2 separate regions of the Homo sapiens genome follow, and region 2 is linked to region 1. The links are contacts of gene promoters, found by promoter capture Hi-C in blood cells and fetal thymus (Javierre and others, 2016). All regions are on one chromosome and are shown on one strand. The core of a region is centred on a gene start or on the middle of the fragment in contact, and the rest is flanking DNA. Distances in the headings are between cores, read along the strand shown. Region 1 holds the start of TMEM161B (transmembrane protein 161B). Region 2 has its middle 140 kb from the start of LINC02144.

Region 1 (7,201 bases), core at 1,661-4,160:
GCTGTGGAGGAATTTATAGTCTAATTAGGAAAACAGTATATGTTAGGGGAAAAAAAACTACAATGAAAGCATACGACACTTAACCTTGTTCAGAAACAGTAATTTCTTAGCAGAAAAACTAAGCAGAACATTTTGCAAAAAATATGGACTGAACTGCGAAAAAGTGATATATCTTAATGGTTTAAAGAGTTCCAGGTCAGTGTGGGTATCGTACTTTTTGTTGGTCTTGAAAGCATTTGAGAACAGTTCTCATTCAGGACATTTCAACTCATCACAAAGCCCGAATGGTAAGCAACCAAGACTTTTCTCAAAGATTATGCTCCTAATTCCCTTGCTGAAACTACTGAATTTCTTTTCATCTCCATCTATCTTTTCTTCCCTTTCATAACTGTCCCCTTTCTTTGTATCTTTGTCAAAGACACTCACCTATTTTAAATAATGGAAACAGAGAAATTACTGTACTTCAAGGCAGGCAACCAATAGATAATAATATTATTCTACCAAAAAAAAAAGACTGGGTGGCACTACCTTAAAACATATATCCATTTTAATCATTAAATAGCATTACTTATATAACAGATTTTTCACATGTAATTGAGAGAACTGTGTGAAACAGAACATTAAAAGATATTAATCAAGAGTTATTCATCAACTTGCCATACAACAAATAAGGAACACTGCACTCTGTGATCTATTAAAAATGATAAGCAGATAATCAAAACTGCGATTTCTTTTCATGGTTTTACTCTAGCAGGAATGGATTCCATTCTGATAGTAATTCCAGTTTTACTGTCACATAGAAGGAGATACTTTGCGAACCTCAATGACTGCCAGGTTTAGGACAGATATTAAGAACCACAGTGTCAGAAATGAAAGAGTACAACTTCACAGAATGTGTTGTCTCTGACAGGTTGATAGCCACTTACCTTCTCCATCTTTTCTTCCTCAAGGATAGCAGCTGCTTCCCACAGATACACCAACAGGCAATTCCAGCCCCTCTCTACCACACTTACCATTTGCAGGTGCCTGTGGCTTGTCTATTTACAACCTTGTCCCTACACAGCAGAAGCGGAACCCTTCAGGAAGTTCTGGATTCATCCTCAGCAGGATCTGTTTCACAAACTATTCTCCAGTCCCACCTTCCCTCCAGGTATTCTGTCAGTACTTACGATTCCCAGATCTTCTTTTAATTGTCACGCTGTTCGTCCCCTCACAAAATCAAGTTTAAACTAAAAAAAAAAAACAAAAAAAAAAACCCTCATACACTCAGTCTGTGTCCCCTTTCCTGACATAAAATAACTGGCCCTGTGCATGCTTCTTTTGGATGGCTGAGAACCCCGATTCCTTTGGGCCATTTACAGCTTGGATACCATACGCTCCAGGTACTTTGATAAGCAGGGTGAAATTTAATATCTATAACAACGCCTGCCTACTCAACCTTCTTAACTTCTCCCAAAACTTCCTAGTTTCCCTTCCCAATTCCAACTTCATAACAAAACATCACACTATGGCACAAAGTGAATTCATGGATGAAATTACTAACAGCTACAACTTAAGTAAGGACCCCAAGTCGTGAGACAAATTTCTGGGTTGAAAGTGCTCTGTATATCCATTTCAAGCCTGCCTCCAGTACGATGTCTCATTATAATCAAATAAAAAGGCAGAAAAAGTTGAATGGAATAGAGTTTGGAAAAAACACAAAATTAAAAGTTGTATGAGAGTTTCACTTATTTGCATCTGATATAAATATCTATACATCTATAGAAAAAAAAAACCCTCATACACTCAGTCTGTGTCCCTTTTCCTGACATAAAGCAACTGGCCCTGTGCAAGCTTCTTTGGGATGGCTGAGAACCCCGATATATCGATATATTTATAGATAGACGTCTACATATCTATCCAAATATCTATATCTATCCATATATCTACCTATCTATCTATCTATATATATATCTATATCTATCGATCGATATCTATCTATATCTATCTATCTAGACTTCCCTGGTGAGGGAGTGAACCGCTGCCTGACGGGGGCCAAGACTGGCAGAGCAGAGACGCGGTTTGTACATGAGGGGAGGTGGTGGCCAGAGCAAAAGTGAACCGCAGGCTAGGCAAAGACCACAGCACACAGCCATACAGGTGTCCAGGACCGTCAGATCCCAGAGCATCTATCTATATAGATAGGTATCTATATGGAAAACGTCCATATTGGAACGTATTAAAGAGGCAGAATTTTCTTCCTGGGTTCTCTGCTCTTGGTAGATGTTCTTCCGGCTTCAATTGCCACCTGTGAATAGTGAAGAAACTTCTCACTATGAGATTCCATTGCCCGGAAGGAGGGTAGAGCTACGGTACCCACTAAGGCAGGGAACAGAAGCAACAGACGGACAGGTCTGTGGAAATGAGGATATGCTAATAAGGGACCGAGTCAGGAAAACTAGAGGGTAACAAGAGGGCGTCAGTTAAGCTGAGACAAAATGACGGCCAAAGGTGGTCTTTACTCTCTCTAAATCACCTGGGTCTGGAGTCGACTCCCATCGCGCACCCTCACTCCCACCCCTGGCCCCCTCCCGCCCCCCACCCGCCCCCCTCCCTCTCCCCTCCCGCTCCCCACACCAACGTGTGCCTCCGTCACCTCTCAGACAGTGGATGCGTTCCTGTTGAAACCACCCAATCTACCTCAGGGTCCTCGCAAGCGCAGCCACCACGATCCGCCCGCCCACGTACCTGTGCTGCGCCTGCGCCTCCTCCGCTCTCTCAAGGTCAGCACCGCCCCCAGCCCACAACCTGGCACCCACGGAAGTTGCTTTAGAGGACGTCCTGCGTATCTTCACCTCTGCGTGGCGTGGGGTCGACGGCGCTCTGGAGAAGGGAGGAACTTCCTGTCCCGCGCGCGCACAACTTCCGGCAGAGCCGGAAGACCCTCTCTTTCGCTGTTTGAGAGTCTCTCGGCTCAAGGACCGGGAGGTAAGAGGTTTGGGACTGCCCCGGCAACTCCAGGGTGTCTGGTCCACGACCTATCCTAGGCGCCATGGTGAGTTCTTCTGTGAGGGCAGGAGTGACAACGGTGGGGCGAAAAGGGCGGGGAGGTCAGTACTGTGAAAAGAGCCATCAGGTGCTCTGCTCAGAATGGAGTTGAGACGTTGGGATGAGCTGCTGGGTAGGACCCACCACCTATCTCAGGGTGTCTGAGCCCCTGAGGAAGCAGCATTACGCCTACCTGTCTGGGAGACTAGCGGGCCGGAGGCAGGGGCGTATCTGTCAGGGAGTATGGACTGGGTAGCCTGCCTGTTCATGGCCCATTTACTGTGTATGGCCTGTGGCGCCAGGTGATCCCAGAGTTGACCTTGCCGGGTCAGTCACCTCTTCTGCGCCCCCTTCTCCATCCGCGGAACAGTGGCCAAGAACTTCAGATCTTAGAAATGCTTTTAGCCTCTCCAGGTGGACACAACGGGTCTCCTTGTATAAGATCAACACCTGTCATTTAAAGAAACGGTAGTCCCCTTATTCTTTACACTTAGCCATTTCATAATTGAAAAGGGTGTCAAATAAAAAACCCGAGTTTAGTAAGGACAGACTTTATTCGAAAGGAATATTGCAGGGGTGTGGAGGAAGGTTGAAGGAACTGTTGCAGTAGGGAGAATGACCGTAAGATTTGCATGCACCTTAAAGGTTAGGCAGAAAGGGTTTGTCTTTTGTTGGTAGGGGTAAATAAGATGTCAGGAATTGGGATGAAAATATGGGTATGATCCGGCAGTAACCAGATAATGTTTTACCCTGAGCCCATGTATTCTGAGGAGGAGCTGTTAGGAGAGGTTTGTATATGTTGTTTCAGACTGAGGGAAGGACAAAATTCAGGTACCCGAGAGAAGAGAATCTTAAAGTTTGGTTAATAAGTATTTTGTTCCGATTGATCTGTGGGACAGGTACTTCAGCAAGTCATTTACGAAGCAAAGGATGGGAATTAGAAGGGTCTAGTTATGGCCTTGTTATAGGTAAACAAGGGGTAGGGGGGTATGGATCAACCCTTAGTCTTATCTAAGTTCTACAGGAAAGATGATTCTTTGCAGTAAGCCAATTTCTCAGAACACAAACGGGGGCAAGGGGTTTCTTAACCTTTGCTGTTTTTCAAGATCACGGGGCTCTGGTGAAGTTCATTATTGTCAGTTTCTTCACCGTATACAAGATTTCAAACCCTCACTTGCAGAGGCTTCTGTCCTGGAATTTAGCTTCAGTTTGTCTTATATTTTCAGGGCCAAATATTGCCAACATTCAGTTAATGTGTGTGGTGATTGGCTTTTGAATGACTTTTAGAAACTTAGCTGAATGTAGAACAAAGACCTTCAAAATAATGTAGTTCCTGGTGCACTTTACCAGATAACCTATCTCTTTAAAGTTTTTTTTTTTAAGCCTCAGTGAATAATATGGTTTGTATTAAGAAAGTTGTTTTTCTTTTGTATCAGTGAAATTAGACAAGGATAGGGAAAACAGAACTGGGAGAAACCAAAGCCTAGTAATCACTCTTCCATCCCCATTTTTACAGAAGAAAGAATCTGGGGTCTAGAAATTGACAGTGATTTTTCTAAAGTAACAGTAGTTTGGCAGTCTGGACTAAAACTCATATTTTCATTTTTTAAATTTAAGATTAATTTTTGACTTTTTGGTCTGAAAAGTTGAAGGTAAAGTATAATTAAAATACTTAAGTTCATCATAGTCACAGAAAAGCTGAACATGAACTTGTTCTCAGTGTTTTGGAATACTAGAAGTAGAATCCTGCTTATCCTGTCGGTTCAAAAGAGATGGTTAATGTTTGGAACTAATGTAATCTTATGCTGTTTTTCTGAATGTCATTTTGGAACTAACTAGTTGGCTCTTTTCCTTCTGGAAGTGCTTATATTTCTGAGCTAATTATCTTGGCTGAGTTTTATCTTTCCCAGCTATGAAATTGATAATGTCTGTATATGCAAGTGTGGTTAATGCTTGGAATTTTTCAAAGGGAAGAGTTTAACCATTAAATGAAGTGAACATGGGCTGAATTTATTGAGGATTCAGCTTGTTGAAATCAGAACTTGTTTTGCATTGCTGGGGCCTAATGATATTATGAAAAGAACATTAGTATTGACCCCAGAGGACCCAGATTCTGCCCATTGTTAGTTATATGGATTTGGAAAAGTCACTCAATTTTGATAAGAGTTCCAAATTCCTCCTGGGTAAGAGAAGTGGGACTTGATGGGTATTAAAGCACCTTCTTAAATTTATGATTCCATGACTACTCAACATTTTTGAGGATAGTTACATGTTTCAGATTAAATAAAAGTTAGTCTGATTTCCACTGTTTTGTTTCCATGCCATTTTGGCTTAAGTTTGATTTCTTTTATCATTCTCTTTTTCATTTTTTTCATAAGTCACATAGATAGTACTTGGAATCTTTGTATATTTGGCCAAGTCTTTCACTACTGTCTTAAATACTGCTCCAGAATGGAACACAACTCTTGGAATGTTTTGATTTAATTCTTGTTTTAATCAATGATAAACTAATTCTGTGCTCTCATTCTCTCATACATTATGTATACCGATACTCAATAGATACCTGTGCCTATAACAAGGTTTTTGTATTATGAATGAAGGAGAATAGGATTATGATCCAGACTGAAAATACTGAACTCACGCTTAATTTTTATGCTTTCAAGTTGTTGTGAAGACAAGTCTATAGGAAATTTACTAATGGAATAAAGCCATTTGCTCTATTGCACTTTCCTTTTTGAAAATTACAGACCAACTTTGATCAAATATAAATCTTTCTACCATTCAAGCTAATTTGTGGAAGATAGGTAGATTAGAGCTAGCTCCTGGAATTGCAGATATCACGGCTTGCATCTGTGTATCATCCTGTAGTAACTTACTGCTGTAATTGAACAATGGTTTGTGGGCAGGTGTGGGAGAGTAGGCCATGGGGAGGTTATAAACCTTTGCCATAATCAATTGGATTTGATGAAAAGTTTTCTTTTTGAGGGGAGTGGAGGGGAGTGTTGGGAAGAGTGTGTAAATGCTATAAGAGAAACACATATAATAGGCTCAAAGAGTACAGTGGAAAGAAATTATTTCTAACTGAGAGCAGGTTGGGTCATGTAGTAGGTCACAGGTTCCCAACCCCTGGGACTGTGGACTTGTACTGGTCCATGGCCTGTTAGGAACTGGGCTGCACATCAGGAGGTGAGTGGTGGGCAAGTGAGTATTAATGCCTGAGGTCCACCTCCTGTCAGATCAGTGGTGGCATTATATTCTCATAGGAGCGCAAACCCTGTTGTGAACTGTGCATGTGAGGGACCTGAGTTAGGTGACCCTTAAATGACAATCTAATGCCTGATGATCTGAGGTGGAACAATTTCATCCCGAAACCATCCTTCCTCCACACTGCCTCCACAATGTGTGAAAAAATCGTCTTCCATGAAACCAGTCCCTGGGGCCAAAAAGGTTGGGGACTGCTGTAGTAGGTGACTTCAACTGAGTTTTGAAAAGTGGGTTAATATACTAGTTTTCAAGCTTGAGTTTGCATAGGAATCACCTGTGATACTTGATAAAAAACACTTCTCTGCGCTGATAATTTGGGGTAGCATAAAGTTTTAGAATTGTATTTTTAAATTTTTTTTCAAATTTTACTTTAAGTTCTGGGATACATGTACGGAACATACAGGTTTGTTACATAGGTATACATGTGCCATGGTGGTTTTGCTGGATTTATCAACCCATCATCTATGTTTTAAACTCTGTATGTATTAGGTATTTGTCCTAATGCTCTCCCTCCCCTTGCCCCCCACCCCCTGACAGGCCGCAGTGTGTGATGTTACCCCCTCTGTGTCCATGTGTTCTCATTGTTTAACTCCCACTTATGAGTGAGAACATGGTTTGGTTTTCTGTTCCTGTGTTAGTTTGCTGAGAATGATGACTTCCAGCTTCATCCATGTCCCTGCAAAGGACATGAACTCATTCTTTTTTATGGCTGCATAGTATTCCATGGTGTATATGTGCCACATTTTTGTGATCCAGTCTATCATTGATGTGTATTTGGGTTGGTTCCAAGTCTTTGCTATTGTAAATAGTGCTGCAATAAACATACGTGTGTGTGCATGTATCTTTAGAGTAGAATGATTTATAGTCCTTTGGGTATATACCCAGTAATGGGATTGCTGGGTCAAATGGT
Region 2 (7,451 bases), core at 2,623-5,122, 400 kb after region 1:
AATTAAATGCATTAATATTCCCCAACCCTATTATTGGCCTTTAATTTCCATATTATATCAAATCTTTAATTAAGACATAAAACAAGTTAAAAAAAGAGAGATTTCACTTTTTCTTACCATTTCTGTTTCCATTTTTACCCACAGCAATGCCTAAAAGTCACAGATAATTCACAATCTGAAAAATAAACATTTACAGACTCAATATAAAACAAATCTGCAAAAAGTCTTGAAATAATATTTAAAATAATTCACCTTCTTTGGTAGAAATTAGTATATTTGGTTCCCTTTTTGCATATTTATTTTGTGCAAGGATCTCACTCTGTTTTTGAGGGCCTATTATGTGCTAGGTGCTATTCAAGATACTGATAAACAGAAATGGACAAAACAATTATCTCTAACCTTATGGGCTTATGTTTAGGGGAAAGGGAAGAATAAAGAAGACAAGCAAAATACATAATATGATAAATAGGAATTATTGCTTAAGTGATAAAATAGGAGAGGGATATATTATGAACTTGAGAGTAAACTTTTAGGCGAATTGATAAAGAAATTGCCGCAATAGCAAAGAGGAATCACCCTAGGTCTTGACCTTTGCCTTGTCTTAGTCTATGAAGAACTCTACTAACCAACCCATGTACCCAAAACTAGTTCTGAAAAACAGCAAATTTCTAAAGCCCTTGAATAGGCATTTATTTAGTCTGAGACTACAGAAGAAAGAAAACACATCTAATGATGCATTTAAGAGAGAGTCTGCAAAGGGACGTTGAATAATGAGACAGGAGAGAAGTTTCCTTTGTCTTTGCTGAGAAAGGCCCAGGGAGGAGAAGGTCAGCAGTAACAAAGGAGAGAAGAAAGCATATATTTTTCCTTGGGTCCTAATTTTTTGCAAATTTAAAAAATAAAAAGGTTACACATGTTGAAGATTTTATGTAAAGATTTTGGGATAATGAATTTAAATTAGTCTTGAAAGTTGGAATATATCACCACTAACTGTGAGGCACATTATTTATTTTCTGATTAATGAAAAATCCCAAATATTGTGAGTGAAACTATTATAGAGAATCTATAATAGGAAGAATATGAGTACATGTAAAATAAAGAAATGGGTGAAAACTTCTTGATGATATTTTGGTGAGATGTAATGTACAACCTCTCCAAACCTACTACTTATATTGAAAAAGTCATTAAATTAAAAGTTATTAAATGTATGAAATTTTACCCAATTCCAACTATGTAGCATACCATGAACATGCAAAATACATATGTTTCAATGGCTATGAGTTTTGTCTTTTAGTTTAGAATGCAAGAACTTTGACATTACCTCTGCAGTATGGTAAACGCTGAGATAGGAGGGAGGCGGAGATTTGGCCAGATTCAGAACAGAGCAAGGAAATGGATTTGATCTTGGTGATTTAGAGTGTGGGAACTCATGTCAACTTTAGGATATGCACTTGGGTGAATTTTACTTAAATAAAGGGAAAATTAGCAAATGAATGTTTCAGAAAGAGTTAAAGCTTGTCTCATATGCTATCTATGGAGTGGGAGAATCCAATTTGATAACATTTGAAAGGGAAAACTGTACCAAAAAATTACAAAGAGCTTTTGCTCCCTAAAAAGGGTTGTTTGGCAAAGTGCCTGCTTTCACATTAGATTCCACTTATGATGTTTTCATTATACAATTTATGTTTCCGCTTTTTTTTTTTTAATTTCCCAAGTTTAACTTAAAAGTATTTCTACAGAATTATTTATATTTTATCTCATTCTCACTATGGTAGTTCCTAAAATAAAATATACAAATACTTATTGGTTATTGGTTTTGCTGCTTTTTAATGCTGTGGAATCCTGTATACTGTGTATATAGTAATAGGGAAATTAAAAATTCCATAAGAGGAAAAAAATTAAGACACATAAAAGTATTGGAAGATATATTGATAATATTTTTTAATTATTAATTTTAGATTTTTATGATAAAACATACCAACTACCATTAAATGGTATGCCCCTCTCTATTGGCTTAAGTATCATCAAGCACATACCTCTTTATAGAAAAGAGAAAAACTGGGATAATCACTAAGATTCCAAATTCTGTCAAACCAAAAACTTGCTGTAATTTCTCCTTATGACACTGATCTCAGACATTTATTCTCAGTAAAATAAGTGAAGAAATTAGTAGCCGTCTAATTGGTGAAACTCTTGGGGTAGTTGTATAAAGTTCATTACTGTTCAGACATTTAATAAGCAAATGTCCTCTCAGCAACTCCAAATGGCTGCAGTTCCTATTGAATACAATTCTCTTTTCAAGCCATTGATGTGAAATGATTCTATTGACACTAACTTTTGAAGAAAACCTTTAGTTGAAGGGAGCTATGTCCAACATTTATCTCTATTGGTGGAATTTTTTCATTTTATATATTCTTCTTTTATTTTTTATGTGAGAAGGAAAAAACAAAGTCAGATCAAACACATCTATGGAACAAAGCACAAGGGTTCACACTAATGTGCAGGGATGAGAAGACTTTGCTCTAATTTGCTCTCAAAAGCCCTGATGCATTTTCCCATACCCCATACACAGGCATGACAGTGGATACCTCAGCCACTTTTGCACATGCCTAAGAAATGTGTTTCTCACTTAAATTGCAGTTTCCACACTTTTCTGAACATATCTCTTAAACTTTTTTTTGTCTTCCTTTCCTTTTTTTGAAAAGAAATAGAAGGTAAGTTTCGAAATAAGCATTAGTGGAATAACTTGTTAGATTTGGAGATGGAGCAGTACTTTTCATTCTTCCAGGCATGTATTTGAAAAGAATTTGCACCTAAATTGCCTTGACTGACTGTTTCTATTCCAAGTTAAGTCATGATACCAGTTGAGTAAAGACACCCAGAAAACCCTTCTGGGCATTGCAAGGTTTCTCTTCCCTTTAGCGTTTGAAGTCAATGCTGACAACACATCTACTGTCCACTGGTCCTTTAATCAGTGTCCAACCTATCCGACGAGAATAGCCCCAGGATGGAGCCCCAGACCAGGCCATGGGCAGCACCCTTTTGTCCCTCTCACATGGATGGGACATGATTCCACAGGATTAGCCAACAATTATATGCTCTGAACTGATCAATTCAGTCAATTTACTGTGCAAAGTAAATTGATCCTTCAGAACAAAGGATTCTGTCAGCAGGGAGCTACCTGAGAAAGCAGCATGCCTGTGTAAACAGTTCTGTCCTTGTCCCAGTGTGGAGTGGCCCTGCGCCATATGGTGCCACTATGAACTTATTAGCTGACGGATTAACTGATCTCTGCATTTGGGATCCCCAGTTTCCAGCTGTGAGAATGATTGATGGGCTAACTACTGCTCCAGTCTTGGAAGTTATTTCCTCCATTTAACAGAGTCAAGAAGACAGAAAATTGCCCCCTTTGTAAATGCTAATCTCACCACTCCTTCGAACACCCAACATAGCAATTTATTCAAGGCAAAGTCTTAAAATTGGTATAGTGCACATCAAATGCATACTAATTAGCAATTTCTTTTGAAGGCTCCATCACTTATTAAGGGTCTCCTTTTCCATATGTTCATCATGCCCCACTTCACCCTTTAATTACAAAACAGCACTTTCAACTAATTGTGAGAAGGTATATTGTGCCCGGAATCTGTATTAAACTCTACACCTTCTGATGCCTAATTTAGGGTCACATCGAAGGCAGACAGATAAGCAGGCAAAAAGGCTTACAACTGTCATCTGCAATTTTAAGCATATTTGGGTGTTGTTCAGAAAGAACATTTTATCTAAGATGCCAGCTATGACATTCATCACTGGGCATTACCACAAACCCTGAGTAGAAAGAAGGGGATTGATTCCAGATTAATAAATGGAATCTTTCCTTCTTCGAGGGAAACCCACATAAACTCGACAGATACATGATAATATTATTTGTAACTTTGTAATTACTTCACCTATATGTAAAAGGACCACACAAGTTTAAAAGGTTAACAGTCTGTTATTTAAATATGTATATGATAGTTGCACCATAGAAAGGGGAATTTTGCAAAAATACACCTGAATAACACTTAAAATAAATGCCTCTCCTCTTGGGAAATGTTGATGTTTTCCTGCATTAAATAAAACCCAGAGCCTTTAAGCCAGCTAGATAACTCTAACCTTGATCCCAAGTATATGTCTGTCATTTATTATCCTCACTAGAATGTTTTATGATAAAGACCTAGTCAGCTCCTTTCTCTGGCCCTCTTTTTCTACAGAATTTTCTAGACAATCTAGTGATACTTCCTTGTTGATGTTGGTTCCCAGAGATAGAACTGGTGGGAGTTTATGGTTCAGGTATATGTAGGCTACCTGGAGACAGACCCAAAGAAACCTTTGGATTTGGGGTGGAGAAAGGTGAGGTAAGGGATTCGCACTGTAAAAGCAGTTCATTTTTCACAAATCTTTAGTGAACCTGACTTCATCAGATAACAGTAGAACCCTGTAAATAAGCCAAGGAGCCAGACCAATCAATCTATCTTTAAATTAGGACCACTTTGAGGTAGGCTTTGAAACCATTCCTATATTCACAGTTGATGTATGGCAGAAATGGGAAAACCATGAATGGCAAAATATGTATAAGACTCTGTTTTTTTTTTGTTTGTTTGTTTTTTGTTTTTTTCTAGAAATTAACTTCAAAGATTCTTGAGCAGACCCTTGGTTGTTTGCTGTCTTCAGCCAAATGTCTTTGTTGAAACCAAAATTGCATCTTTTTATGATGGTTATTCAACTTTAATTTCCAAACTCTCTGATTCAGAATCAGTTTCCTTCAGACTATGGTTTGGTGGATTCTAGTCAAGGTTTATTCAGGGTTTTAATCCTCCTTTTAGCCATGTGTCTTTGGCCAGATTTTGATCTTTTTGAATCTCAGCTTCCTCATCTGAGATCATGAAGGGAATTATATCTCACCTCAAAGGTTTGGCTTATATCTGGTGTGCTGATAGGTGAGTATGCTAGTTTAGCATGGAACAGAGTTAGAAGCTAAGACTTTCCTTTGCTTCTCCTTCCTTTCATTTACTAACCACTTTGGCAACTTCAGTTTATCAGTTCAGTATCACACTTACCATTTAGGTTTCTTCTGTAGAGAAATAACTTGAGTTTTTCTCTTCCCTAAAGAGAGCAGAAAGAAACTGTCATTAAAATAGAGGGAAAATAAAAAATATCATATTATCTTCTTTCAAGCAATATAACGTATACCAAATATTAATGTAGTGTGTGTGTGGGGGTGGGGGGGGCGGTCAATCATTTATTTTTAAATCACTTTCTGAAATTTGCTCTTTCTTTCTTTCTTTTTTTGAAAGAGTCTCAATCTGTCACCCAGGCTGGAGTGCAATGGCGTGATCACAGCTCACTGCAACCTCTGCCACCTAGGTTCAAGAGATTCTCATGCCTCAGCCTCCCAAGTAGCTGGGATTACAGGTGTGCACCACCACACCCAGCTAATTTTTGTATTTTTAGTAGAGACAGGGTTTCACCATGTTGGTCAGGCTAGTCTTGAACCTCTGACCTCAGGTGATCCACCCACCTCAGCCTCCCAGAGTGCTGGGATTACAGGTGTGAGCCACTGCACCTGGCTTGGTTGCTCTTTCTTTAATAAACAGTTGAATTTTAATATTGAAATGTGATATATGCAAAGAGAACAACTTATGTGAATACTGGAATTAGAGGATGATCACCATATTTATGAAAAACTGGTGCAAAGGAAAGTTGAGGAAGTCATCTGTATAAACCTGGCAAATAATTGTTAGGGAAGAATGATTTTAGCATTTTTTTGTGTTTTATGAGTCCAAAATTCTTAGCAAATTTATACTGAATTGAATTGTAGGCAGCCAAATAGAACCCTCCAAATATCCTCAAACACACTAGACAGTCACTTTATTTTGACTTTGAAAATCTGACCGTAGTAAATGTTTTTATTTATAGAAATCTTCACAATATTTTAATAGTTAGGTTAGATATACTTTGTTGGGATATCAAGATGGTAAGCCACAATTTGTTCTTTGAAAGAAAATATGCAAATCCTGTTTCTAATTATTCATGCTAATTAGGAGGTTTACTTGAAAAAAGTGTGTGACAGATAAATGATTCACATTTGGTTGAAGAATAGAGTCTATTACTTTTTCATCAGATTTATCATTTCCTTTACCTTCCCCACCTTCATTCAGGCAATTCTTTTAGACAAATGTCAGCAAGCTTAATTTCCACCTCTGTATCAGATTATTCTAGAATTATCACATGTTTAATAGTGATAAAGGTGCCACAATATTTCAAAAAGTTTTTCCTTATTTGCTGTTTATTTTTTTCCCCGTGGGAGAAACTATGAATTATATATCATTCAGGTTAAAGAACCTCCACCTCTAAGTGTCAGGGGAATTTTGCCTTTGAAAAACCTCTCCTTTCATCCTAACCAGTTTTTGGACTCCAAGTGACATGAGGTTAAAGAGCCTCTTTTATACATCTGTACATATCTGGTCTTTTAAAAAGAGTAAGTACTCAATGAATGTGGTTGAATGAAAGAGATAGTCACGGTCTATGAGAAGCATGGCTATTTGCTATCACATAGGATAAGAGTACCAAAGAACATTTGCAATATATACCAGTCTTGTACAGTATTCTGAGCTTTATTTAATGAGTTTTAAAATTGTGACTTTTAGAGAGCAGAGTCCACCTCCAGTCACTTTCTCTCACTCTCTCCAAATATCTACTTCACAAAGATTGAGTATAGATGATCACTGATTCTATACGGGCTACTTCACATAATTTTGATCTGATCCTTTTTCACTACCCTTATTTGTGTGTATGTGTGCATAAATACCAACAGTGTGGTGGGTGGGTAGGTAAGTAGGTGAGAAATCTCTCCCTCCAAAGATTAACTGAATTTTTTATTTGGGGAATTTTTAGTGAATATGTGTCAATTCATTTGATATTATAGAATGCAACAAATGTTTTCAGATTAGCTTGATTTTCATCTTTTGAGTTCTCAAAAGCTACACTTCACATTTCCTGACAGTTATATTTGGAACCAGAATTTACTCCTTAGTTTCAGGTAATTTTTTCAGTTTTTATACTTTTAAATTTTATAGTTCAAGGATTGTTGCTGAGTGTTGTTTGCCTTCATGAGACTAATAATATTCCCGTGTTTAAAGGGGTATATTTTAAGTGATACATATATTCACAGCATAAAAATGTAGCGTACCTAAGTCAACACCAGAGGATTTTCCAGTTTTAAAAATCTTCGCAAGTTTACAAACTAAAGTTTTCTTGAAAGAAGAAAATCACTTTGACTATTACTTTGTACTTCTTAAAAAAAATCAGTCACACAAAGGAAGGCAGGCAATGGCCACAGAACAATCAAGTGATTACCTCATTATGTCATCATTTGGATAATACATGAATATACAACAAACAGCTGACCAACT

Evidence for each region. The method cuts DNA at HindIII sites, captures the fragments that hold promoters and counts their contacts. A CHiCAGO score of 5 or more calls a contact.
Region 2: a fragment that was not itself captured here is called in contact with the fragment with the promoter of TMEM161B in region 1 in 1 of 17 cell types (neutrophils); the score reaches 5.0 in neutrophils.

What each region holds. Positions count from the first base shown.
Region 1 is chr5:88,264,554-88,271,754 of GRCh38, reverse strand. TMEM161B (transmembrane protein 161B) reads left to right here and starts at 2,910. Exons shown (of 12, transcript NM_153354.5): 1 at 2,910-3,034. The coding sequence starts at 3,032. It overlaps TMEM161B-DT (TMEM161B divergent transcript), which reads right to left and starts at 2,873. Exons shown (of 3, transcript NR_039995.1): 1 at 2,728-2,873; 2 at 1,170-1,229. RefSeq lists enhancers at 2,744-2,933, 2,624-3,123. The HindIII fragment of the contact is 4,710 bases long and covers 1,836-6,545 here.
Region 2 is chr5:87,868,973-87,876,423 of GRCh38, reverse strand. No RefSeq gene overlaps it. Among named protein-coding and RNA genes, the nearest start is that of LINC02144, 140 kb to the right of the region's middle. RefSeq lists an enhancer at 2,808-3,827. The HindIII fragment of the contact is 4,711 bases long and covers 1,517-6,227 here.